Regions from separate parts of the Homo sapiens genome. Here region 1 is linked to region 2. The links are contacts of gene promoters, found by promoter capture Hi-C in human tissues and cell types (Jung and others, 2019). All regions are on one chromosome and are shown on one strand. The core of a region is centred on a gene start or on the middle of the fragment in contact, and the rest is flanking DNA. Distances in the headings are between cores, read along the strand shown. Region 1 has its middle 6.5 kb from the start of HTR1D. Region 2 holds the start of LUZP1 (leucine zipper protein 1).

Evidence for each region. The method cuts DNA at HindIII sites, captures the fragments that hold promoters and counts their contacts. A contact is called where the count stands out against the background at its distance.
Region 1: a contact is called between a fragment that was not itself captured here and the fragment with the promoter of LUZP1 in region 2, in 2 of the 25 tissues and cell types used here (H1 embryonic stem cells and neural progenitor cells).

What each region holds. Positions count from the first base shown.
Region 1 is chr1:23,221,465-23,226,559 of GRCh38, reverse strand. No RefSeq gene overlaps it. Among named protein-coding and RNA genes, the nearest start is that of HTR1D, 6.5 kb to the right of the region's middle. The HindIII fragment of the contact is 4,643 bases long and covers 597-5,095 here.
Region 2 is chr1:23,167,534-23,172,686 of GRCh38, reverse strand. LUZP1 (leucine zipper protein 1) reads left to right here and starts at 3,831. Exons shown (of 4, transcript NM_001395462.2): 1 at 3,831-3,921. RefSeq lists enhancers at 2,937-2,986, 4,062-4,593, 4,594-5,125 and silencers at 3,632-3,691, 4,683-4,822. The HindIII fragment of the contact is 15,099 bases long and covers 1-4,039 here.

The DNA of each region.
Region 1 (5,095 bases), core at 1,669-4,168, 55 kb before region 2:
CCAGCGACTTGGGAGGCTGAAGCAGGAGAATCGCTTGAATCTGGGAGGCTGAGGCAGGAGAATCGCTTGAATCCGGGAGACGGAGGTTGCAGTGAGCCGAGATCACCCACTCTAGCCGGGGTGACAGAGCAAGACTCTGTCTCAAAAAACAAAACAAAACAAAACAAACAAACAAAAAACTAGTGAACTTCTCAGAAATAGTCCTAATTTTTGTCTCCTCATCTTTTTCCCCACACCACTGCCTGGAGTCAGGACCCACACCTCTCGCGACAGCCTCCTGCCTGGACTCCCCCATTGCAGACCCTTGTCTTCCTGCATCCTATACCTGAGTTCTGGAGTTTTCTCCATATCACACACAAGTGTGGAGTAAACCTTTACTGTCTATTCAACCCCCTGATTTTTCTGGGGCACTTACTATGCACCTGGCCCATGCTAAACACTTGACCGGCATGGTTTCACATGCGCCTGCCAACACAGGTAAATACTTTTACTATGCTCATTTCGCAGATGAGCAGGGGAGGGAGGAGTTGGGTTGTGAACAAACTGGAAACCTCACACAGTCCTGTGAGGAAACTAATAAGCCTGCTTTATATTATTTTATTCATTCAGGAAATAATACTTACTGTGGGTCTAATGTGTGCAGGCCTCCTTCTAGGTCCGGGGGAACCGGGTATGGTGTGGTGCATGCCTGCAATCTCAGCACTTTGGGAGGCCCAGGTGAGAGAGTTTCACCATGTTGGCCAGGCTGGTCTCAAACTCGTGACCTCAAGTGATCCACCTGCCTCGGCCTCCCAAAGTGCTGGGATTACAGGTGTGAGCCACCATGCCCAGCCCACCATTGCCTTATTATTAATAAGAATAATTTTTTCTTTAACAGTGTGAGTGGGAACAATTGGGAATATCAAACTTTGCCTGTTTCCTTGACTGGTTTAAATGTCTTTTAATTTGCACCACAGAATCTAAAACTTACAAGTTCCTGTAGGAGAAGAATCTTGTTTTGGGATTAGACCAAAAGACCCTGTGAGCCGAACTTCTCTGGGGCAGTTTAAGCCCATCACAGTTCAATCTGAGTCCAAAGAGGCCCCTCCCTCCCTTCCCCTCGGCCACCGGCCTCAGCTCTGCCATCCCCTCGGATTCCTATTCCCCAGGCGAGGCAATCGAGCTCTTAATTAAATTCTCTCGTTAGAAGTCAAGCCCGAGGAAAACAAACAGCAAAACCTCTCCTGCGAGACTTGTCTCTTCCTGGCTCAGAGGCTCGATGCTGGAGATGGTATCACTGACTGCCCTTGGACACCCATCCCTTGCTGCTCCCCGGGAATTTCCTGTTGGCTCCTTCCCAGGCTCAGCCTCACCCCATCTGGCCCAGAGGAAATTGCAATGGGAGGTGAAAGGATGTTATCAGGCATTTCATTGCGTGTTTCATTTAGGGTTGAGTCTCTGGACTCTGGTCAAGGGGGGAGAACGGGGAAGGCTTCAAAGACAGAGAAGAGGCATGGCGAGAGGCACTGAGATATGGGCTGGGGGACACAAGGCACTTGTCCCCAAGGACAGCGGACATGTGATCACACACATACCACCCCCACACCTCCCCTGATTATACTCCAGTAGATGCAGGAACCATGGGGAACTGGAAAGAGCACTGGACTGGGAGTCAGGAAGCCCTGAGTTACTAACTCACTATGCAATTGTTTAATAGTAATCAGAGCAAAATGTATTGCGGGATTGTGTGCTAAGCGTTATGCTAAACCCCACACATGCTGGGTGTGGTGGCTCATGCCTGTAATCCTACACTTTGGGAAGCTGAGATGGGAGGATCTCTTGAGTCCAGGAGTTTGAGACCAGCTTGGGCATAGGGAGATCCTATTTCTACATAAAATTTAAAATTTAGCCAGTTGTGGTGGCATGTGCCTGTAGTCCCAGCTGCTTGGGAGGTTGAGGCAGGAGGATTGTTTGAGCCTAGGAGTTTGAGCCTGCAGTGAGCTATGATTGAGCCACTGCATTCCAGCTTGGATGACAGAGTAAAACCCCTTTGTTGCGGGAAGTCAGGGACCCCAAACAGAGGGACCGACTGGAGCCATGGCAGAAGAACATAAATTGTGAAGATTTCATTTTAATATTGACATATATCAGTTCCCAAAATTAAGAGTTTTATAATTTCTTATGCCTGTCTTTACTTCAATCTCTGAACATAAATTGTGAAGATTTCATTTTAATGTGGACATTTATCACTTCCCAAATAATACTCTTATAATTTCTTACGCCTGTCTTATTTTAATCTCTTAATCCTGTTATCTTCGTAAGCTGAGGATGTATGTCACCTCGGGACCACTGTGATAATTGTATCTAACTGTACAAATTGATGGTAAAACATGTATGTTTGAACAATATGAAATCAGTGCACCTTGAAAAAGAACAGAATAATAGCAATTTTTAGGGAACAAGGGAAGACAACCATAAGGTCTGCCTGCCTGCGGGGTCGGGCAAAAAGAGCCATATTTTTCTTCTTGCAGAGAGCCTATAAACGGATGTGCAAGTAGGAGAGCTATTGCTAAATTCTTTTCCCAGCAAGGAATATTGATAATTAATACTCTGGGAAAAGAATTGCGTTCCTGGGAGGAGGTCTATAAATGCCCACTCTGAGAGTGTCTGTCCTATGGACTGAAATATGCCCTGGTCCCCTGCAGTACTCTCAGGCTTATTAGGGTAGGAAAAAAACCCCACCCTGGTGAATTTGAGGTCAGACTGGTTCTCTGCTCTGAAACCCTGTTTTCTGTTGTTTAAGATGTTTATCAAGACAATATGTGCACAGCTGAACATAGACCCTCATCAGTAATTCTAATTTTGCCCTTTGCCTTGTCATCTTTGCTTTTGTCCTTGCCCTGTTTCCTCAGAAGCATGTGATCTTTGTTCTCTTTTTGCCCTTTGAAGCATGTGATCTTTGTGACCTACTCCCTGTTCGTACACCCTCTCCCCTTTTGAAATCCCTAATACAAACTTGTTGGTTTTGCAGCTCAGGTGAGCATCAGAGACCTACTGATAAGTGATGTCACCCCCAGTGGCCCAGCTGTAAAACTCTTCTCTTTGTACTCTTCCTCTTTATTTCTCAGGCCAGCCAACACTTAGGGAAAATAGAAAGAACCTATGCTGAAATATTGGGGGCAGGTTCCCCCAATACCCCTTCTCAAAAAAATAAAATAAAATAATGATAATAATAATGGGCCAGGCATAGTGGTTCACGTCTGTAATCCCAGCACTTTCAGAGGCCAAGGTGGGCAGATCACTTGAGCTCAGGAGTTCCAGACCAGCCTGGGCAACATGGCAAAACCCCATCTCTACCAAAAATATAAAAAATTAGCTAGGCATGCTGGCGTGTGCCTGTAGTTCCAGTTAGTCAGGAGGCTGAGGCAGGAGAATCACTTGAGCCCAGGAAGCGGAGGTTGTAGTGAGCTGAGAACGTGCCACTGCACCCCAGCCTGGGTGACAGAATAAGACCCCATCTCAAATAACAATAATAATAATGAGGATGATACTAAACCCTAAGCATGGATGATCTCACTTAATTCTCACAACTTTATTCCCTCTTTCTTGGACAAGAAAACTGAGAATCAGAGAGGTTAAGTGACCAACTCAAAGTCACACAGCTAATAAGTGGTAGAGCTGAGATTCAAACTAAGTAGGCTGGCTGCAGAGCCCAAGCTCCTCTCCTAACTGTGTTTTCCAGGTAATTCCTCCTTCTAGGTCTCAGTTTTCCCAACTGTAAATTAACAGGATTAACACACTCAAACTCCAAAGACCCTTCTAGCTCTAACGACCTGTGCTTTATTCAACAGTCACTGTATTGCCAGGCCCTGAACTGGGAATACAAAGATAAGGAAGCCTTCATCTCCGTCTTCAAGTTAGAAACTTCTTCAAAGTAGAAATCACATCTTACTTATCCTTACTGGCCCACCCCACTTGCCACAGCAATGTGTAAAGAGAAGATGCTCAAATTATTTGTTGACTAGACAGATACCTGATTCATGGGGAGTCTGATGTAACTGAGGACCTTGTCCTGTTACTACCCTTGCAAGAGAAAGTTACTTAATCTCTGAGTCTGTTCCTTCATCTATAGAGTGGAAATACACAATAGTACTTTCCCCAGAGGGCAATGGAGAGGAGAATGCATGTTAGGCCCTTAGTGCAGTGCTTGGCGCACACATACACACATACACACACATGCACACACACACACAAAGGCCAGGCATGGTGGCTCACACCTGTAATCCCAGGATTTTGGGAGGCCTAGGCGGGTGAATTACATGAGCTCAGGAGTTCAAGACCAGCCTGGGCAACCTGGTGAAACCCCATCTCTACTAACATACAAAAATTTATCCAGACGTGATGGCACGTGTCTGTAATCCCAGCTACTCGGGAGGCTGAGGCATGAGAATCACTTGAACCTGGGAGGCAGAGGTTGCAGTGGGCTGAGATCGCACCACTGCACTCCAGCCTGGACAACACAATGAGACTCTGTCTCAAAACAAAAACAAAAACAAACAAAAAACTTTACCCTGTTGCTAGCTAGTGAGGGGTTTGCTGTACCCCTCTTTGTCATCCTCAGGTAAAAGCTATGAACCTATTTCCACTGCTAGGGGCAGGTAGCATATTTTCTCAGCCAGATCCTGAGTGATGAGAAAGAAAAAAAGAGCGAGAAGCCCGGGCTTCCCATTCCCTGAGAAGCCCTCCCCAGGATCCTGATTCCCATGCAGTCCTTGTTCCTCCCTTCTGTCTAGACAGCTCTCTCCTGAAGAAACTGCAAACCACAGACTGTCTAATGACAAAGCTTGCCCCAGACACCTGTCCCCAGACACACGATTCATTTAACCCTCTTTAAAAAAGAATAAGCCTGACTCCCACCTCTGAAGCAGAGGGGCACTCTATGGGCATAGGAGTGGCGGGGTGTCTTCTTTTTTCATTAATTTATCCATCCATCCATCCATTCATCCATCCATCCATCCATCCTTGGTTGAATGCTTACAATGTACCAGATTCAGTGCTAGGCACTGGGGATACCTAGGTGAGTAAGACACAAGCTGGCCTCTAGAAACTCATAATA
Region 2 (5,153 bases), core at 2,582-5,081:
AAAAATTACCCGGGTGTGGTGGATCATTCCTGTAATCCCGGCTACTCGGGAGGCTGAAGCAGGAGAATCGCTTGAACCTGGGAGGCAAAGATTGCAGTGAGCCCAGATCGTGCCACTGCACTCCAGCCTGAGCGACAGAGGGTGACCTCTGTCTAAAAAAAAAAAAATAAAAAAATAAAAATTTTTTTTTGTAAAGACAGGGGTCTCACTATGTTGCCCAGGTTGGTCTCAAACTCCTGGTCTCAAGTAATCTTCCCACCTTGGCCACCCAAAGCACTGGGATTACAGGTGTGAGCCACTGCGCCTGGCCTATTTAGTTCTTTATAGTCTCCATATTTTTCTATGCATATACTAAGCATATATTACAAACTATAACTACAGGATCCTACTACACTTGTAATTCGGCAACTTACTCTTACTCTTTTCACTTAACAATGCCCAATAGAGACCTTTATTGTCCAATCATACAAATCTATTCCTTTCCTTTTACTAATGGAGGTCTTGCTGGGAGGATGAGGACATGTTCAAATAGTAACAGCAACCACTATATCCTGGCATGAACTAGGTGCCAGGCTCTGAACTCAGCTCTTTCACATGTTTAACCCTCACAGGCACTGTGTGAGAAAGGTAGTATTATTATTTCCATTTTGCAGATGAGAAACTGAGGTGCAGAGACCTAAAAGCCCAAGATTACATAACTAGTAAGTGGCAGAGCTGGGTTTTGAATCCCGATCTTTCCTGTGCCAAAGCTTTTGCTATGAATAAATCAATAAGTGGTTGCTGGGATCATGGGTCCTGGGGAGAAAGTTCTTTCTTCAGAACCTCCCTTATATGTCCTGGGTTCTTCCTTCCAAGGGTTTGTGGTACTTGGAATCAGCATTAGCCCTTAGGAGCAACTCAGTAAAGGCCCTTCCTTTGCCTCCAGCAATCTTACAGCCATGATTACTTTTCACAGGAAGTGGTGTTTTTGAATATTTTTTCTAAAAATAAGCTATAATTTATTAGAGGCCTTTGAAGACCGGGCCAGGCATTTCAGGACACCCATGTGCCTGCCTGCAGCATAGGAAATTAATCAGAACCCCAAAGTTCCTCCCCTCCTTCCACAGGCCAGTGCTCTAGAAATGCCCAGTGCCTCATTGCAGTTCTCCTAGAGGATTGCAGAGATGCCAAGGGCGGTTTAACACAGATCCACGTCTCTGTAAAGAAGGTGAGAGGAGAAAGGCATGAAGCAGAAATGGGTCAGCTGTGCTGCAAAGAACTCTCAGAGAGAACTACACGCTGACCCCAGCTTGGAGGCATGCTGAATGGCAGAGATGCCCTGGGGCATCATCAGATGTGACTCTGCTGAATCCATCTGGGGTCTGCAGACTGGAGTGCTGGTTTCCATTCCAATGGGAATGCTTTGCAGGGCCACTTTCAGCAAGCCTCTTCCTTTCTCAAGACCCTAAAGTCTTCCATATGAAATGATTAGGTGGATTGTTATGAGGTGCTGTGTGGTGTTAATAACTAGAAATAATACTGATTATAGTAGTTATATATAAAAATACATATATAAATCATACAGTAATTATATATATATATATATATTTTTTTTTTTTGAGACAGGGTCTCGATCTGTCACCAGGCTGTAGTGCGGTGGCATTATCATGGCTTATTGCAGCCTCCACCTCCCAGGTTCAAGGGATCCTCCCACCACAGCCTCCTGAGTAGCTGAGACTGCACGGGCACCACCAGGCCTGGCTAATTTTTAGTATTTTTTGTAAAGACGGGGTTTTGCCATGTTGCCCAGGCTGGTCTCAAACTCCTGGACTCAAGTGATCCATCCCCCTGGACTCAAGTGATCCTCCCAAAGTGGTGGGATTGCAGGCATGAGCAACCGCGCCTGGTCAATATAATACTACTGAAAATAAGAATGACAGGGGCCTGATGTGGTGGCTCACGTCTGTAATCCTAGCACTTACGGAGGCCAAGGTGAGTGGATCACCTGAGGTCAGGAGTTCGAGACCAGCGTGGCCAACATGGTGAAACACCGTCTCTACTAAAAATACAAAAATTAGCCAGGTGTGGTGGCAAGTGCCGGTAATCCCAGCTACTTGGGAGGCTGAGGCAGGAGAATCTCTTGAACCTGGAAGGCAGAGGTTGCAGTGAACTGAGATCGTGCCACTGCACTCCAGCCTGGGCGACAAGAGAGAAAATTCGTCTCAAAAAAAAAAAAAAAAAAAAAGAAAGAAAAAGAAAATAAGAATGACAATCATATTGTTCATATTGTTTGTGGAACACTGTGCCTGATGTTTTCCATACAGTATCTTAGGTAATTTTAAAACAAACACCACAAGACTATATTATTATCCCCATTTTATAGATGAGAAGACAGGCTCAGAGATGGCTATTATGACCCCAGAACATATGATCCCAGGGTTTTCTGGCATCAGAGCTTGAGCTCCACAAACATGTGTGGGTTCTGACCTCCAGGAAGTGCTAAGAAACAAATGGGAGGTCAGTTCTTTATAAGTTGTAGTGTTCATGCCCACGTGAGGGTTAAACACAATGTTATTGGTTATTCAGAACAGGGAGGATTGCTTTCTGGCTGGGAGAAGCTGGGAGGTGAGACAGCAGGGGAAGAGCTTCAGCAAAGGGTCAAATGTGGGAAAGCAGTGGGTGTGCTAAGAGAAGTTTGGATAAACTTTGTGTGTGTGTGTGTGTGTGTGTGTGTGTAAAGGTAGGAAGTGATCATACCAGGCCAGGGCTTTGGCCTTTATTCCATAGGCAATAAAGAGCTTACACAAGAGATGTCTCAAGAGACCAACCATGCTGCTGTAGTCAGAGAGGAAGCAGCCCTCAGCCCATCTGTGTCCTGGCTTGTGAATGCTGCTGCGTGCCAGCGTGTGGGAGGGCATCCGCAGCGAGAGCAGTCTCTGGCTGTGTCCTGTACTATGCTGGGTGTGGGTCTTGGGCTGTCTTTGAAGCCTTCCTCCTGGCTTCTCAGGGCACTAGGTGCCTTTTAGATAGTAGACTTAAAGGAAGTATGTCATAGAAGTATGGGAGGGGATTTTGAGATCATCTGGTTATTCCCCCTTCCCATTTTAAAGAAGATGAAAATCGGGAACATAGATGGGAAAGTACTTGTCTAGCATCACACAAAGAATTAATAGCACAGTGGGGGACGGGAACCCATGCCTCCCGAGTCTGAGCTGAGTTCCTTCTCTGCATTTGCAGAGTAATAGAAATAGGATTTGTTGAGTGATTATTCCATATCAGGTTCTAGGCTAAGCACCTTTCCATTGATTATCTCATTTAATCCTCACAACCCTACTGAGAGTGTCCCGCTTTTTTCTTTTTCTTTTGAGACAGGGTCTCACTCTGTCACCCACGCCGGAGTGCAGTGGCACGATCACGGCTCACTGCAGCCTCGACCTCCCTCGGCTCAAGCGATCCTCCTACTTTAGCTTACCGGCGGGCGCCACCACTCCCGGCTAATTTTTGTATTTTTTATAGAGATGGGGTTTCGCCATGTTGCCCAGGCTGGTCTCGAACTTCTGAGTTTAAGCGATCCGTCCGCCTCAGCCTCCCAAAGTTCTGGGATTACAGACTTGAGCCACCACGCGGGCCGAAAGTGTCCCTCCTGAAATCGAGAAGTCTTGTCTTCCATTTCGATTTCCCAGGGCGCCTAGCACAGGACCCAGCTACGGAGGCAATAAAAACTTGGTGGAGTCTAAGTCCTGGGAAGGGAAAAAAAGGACGGAGGGGGCGGGGCCTACAGACAACCCCGCCCATCACAAAGACCCCGCCTTCCAGAACGCTGACGTCACAATTTGGCCCCGCCCCTCATTGTCAGTCCCGCGGAGCCAGAGGAGGCGCCGGTCGCTGGCAGCTGAGCGGCGGAACCCTTCGCTGGCGGGAGCGCGGTTCGGGGCCGCAGAGGTGAGGGTCCGTGAGGCGGCGGCGGCGGGAGCGCGGCGCGGGGAGGGGAGGGCGGCGGGGTTGGGAGGCCGGTCCCGGGTGAGGTCGGGGCACCCGCGGCCACGGGGCAGAAGAAACCGCGGGCGCAGCCGAGGAGAGATGGGGTGTGGAGTTGGGGGAGAGTTGGAATGGATTTTGGAGGAAGGGCTCAGGAGGAGACCTTTTGGGGCGAGACCCAGCACATGTTTGTGGAGTTGGAGGAAGAGACTCTGAGGAGATTTTTCCTCGGGAGGGGGAGGGAAGGTTCTGAGGAGACTTCTTGGTGGGAGCGAGACTCTGAGGAGAAATGTTTGGGGCAGAGACGCGGAGGAGACATTTTCGAGGGGGCGGCGAAGAGTTTCGGGGGTAGAGTTTGGGGTTGGGGGAGGGGGCGCGGGCCGACAGGGGCGGGGGGCGACGAGGCGGCCGTGGAGGGGGCTGCGCGGGGCCCGGCGGGCACCGGAGGAAGGAAGTGATCAGACAGGAAGGGCCCGGGAGCTGCAGCAGCAGGAGGAGGAGGGCGGTTTGGGAGCGCGTCGGGCCGGCGTGCGGGGCCAGCTGCGGGCGCGGGGCGCGGGCCGCGGGCCGGGCGGGGAGGGGTCCCGCGGCCGCCGCAGCTGTCGGCCGCGCCGGCCCGCGTCCCGGGCGCTCTGCTGGTCTCGCAGCCAGACCGCTGGGCCGGGAAGGAATTCGAGGCATTCGCTTTGTTTAAGTTGCCAGTAGACAGTCCTTAGGACTAATTAATGGTGGAATCTGCAGGGGGACGCCGGCGAGCGGGGCCGGGGCCTCCCCCCGCCCGCCGCGGTGAACTTTCCGCAGCGCGGGGCCCGCCTCCCGGCGCACCCCCGGCCCCCGCCCAGCCGCCCGGGCAGGGAAGGAGCCATGGCTTCCCGGAGCGCAGGAATGAAGTGCGGTTTCTGGGGCTGGTGGCCTCTGGCTGCGGAGCCTGCCTGCAGGGAACCTGGCGACCCGCAGCGGCCGCGCTGGGGCTTCGGAGCCCGGTTTAGAGCTCTTGGAGGTGGCTGCGGTTTCTGTGCATAACCTTGGAGGAGCCTCTGTGAGCCGAGAAAGACCATCTTGCTTTGGAGCATCTGTTTCTTCATCGCGTCAACCCCTTTCCTAACACTGCAGAGCTTGTTGTGGCTTGTTTCGGGAATGCCGAGGCCAGTGCTCACCCTTGCGGGTGGGAGAGGGGAAGAGAGTAGGCACCCCCA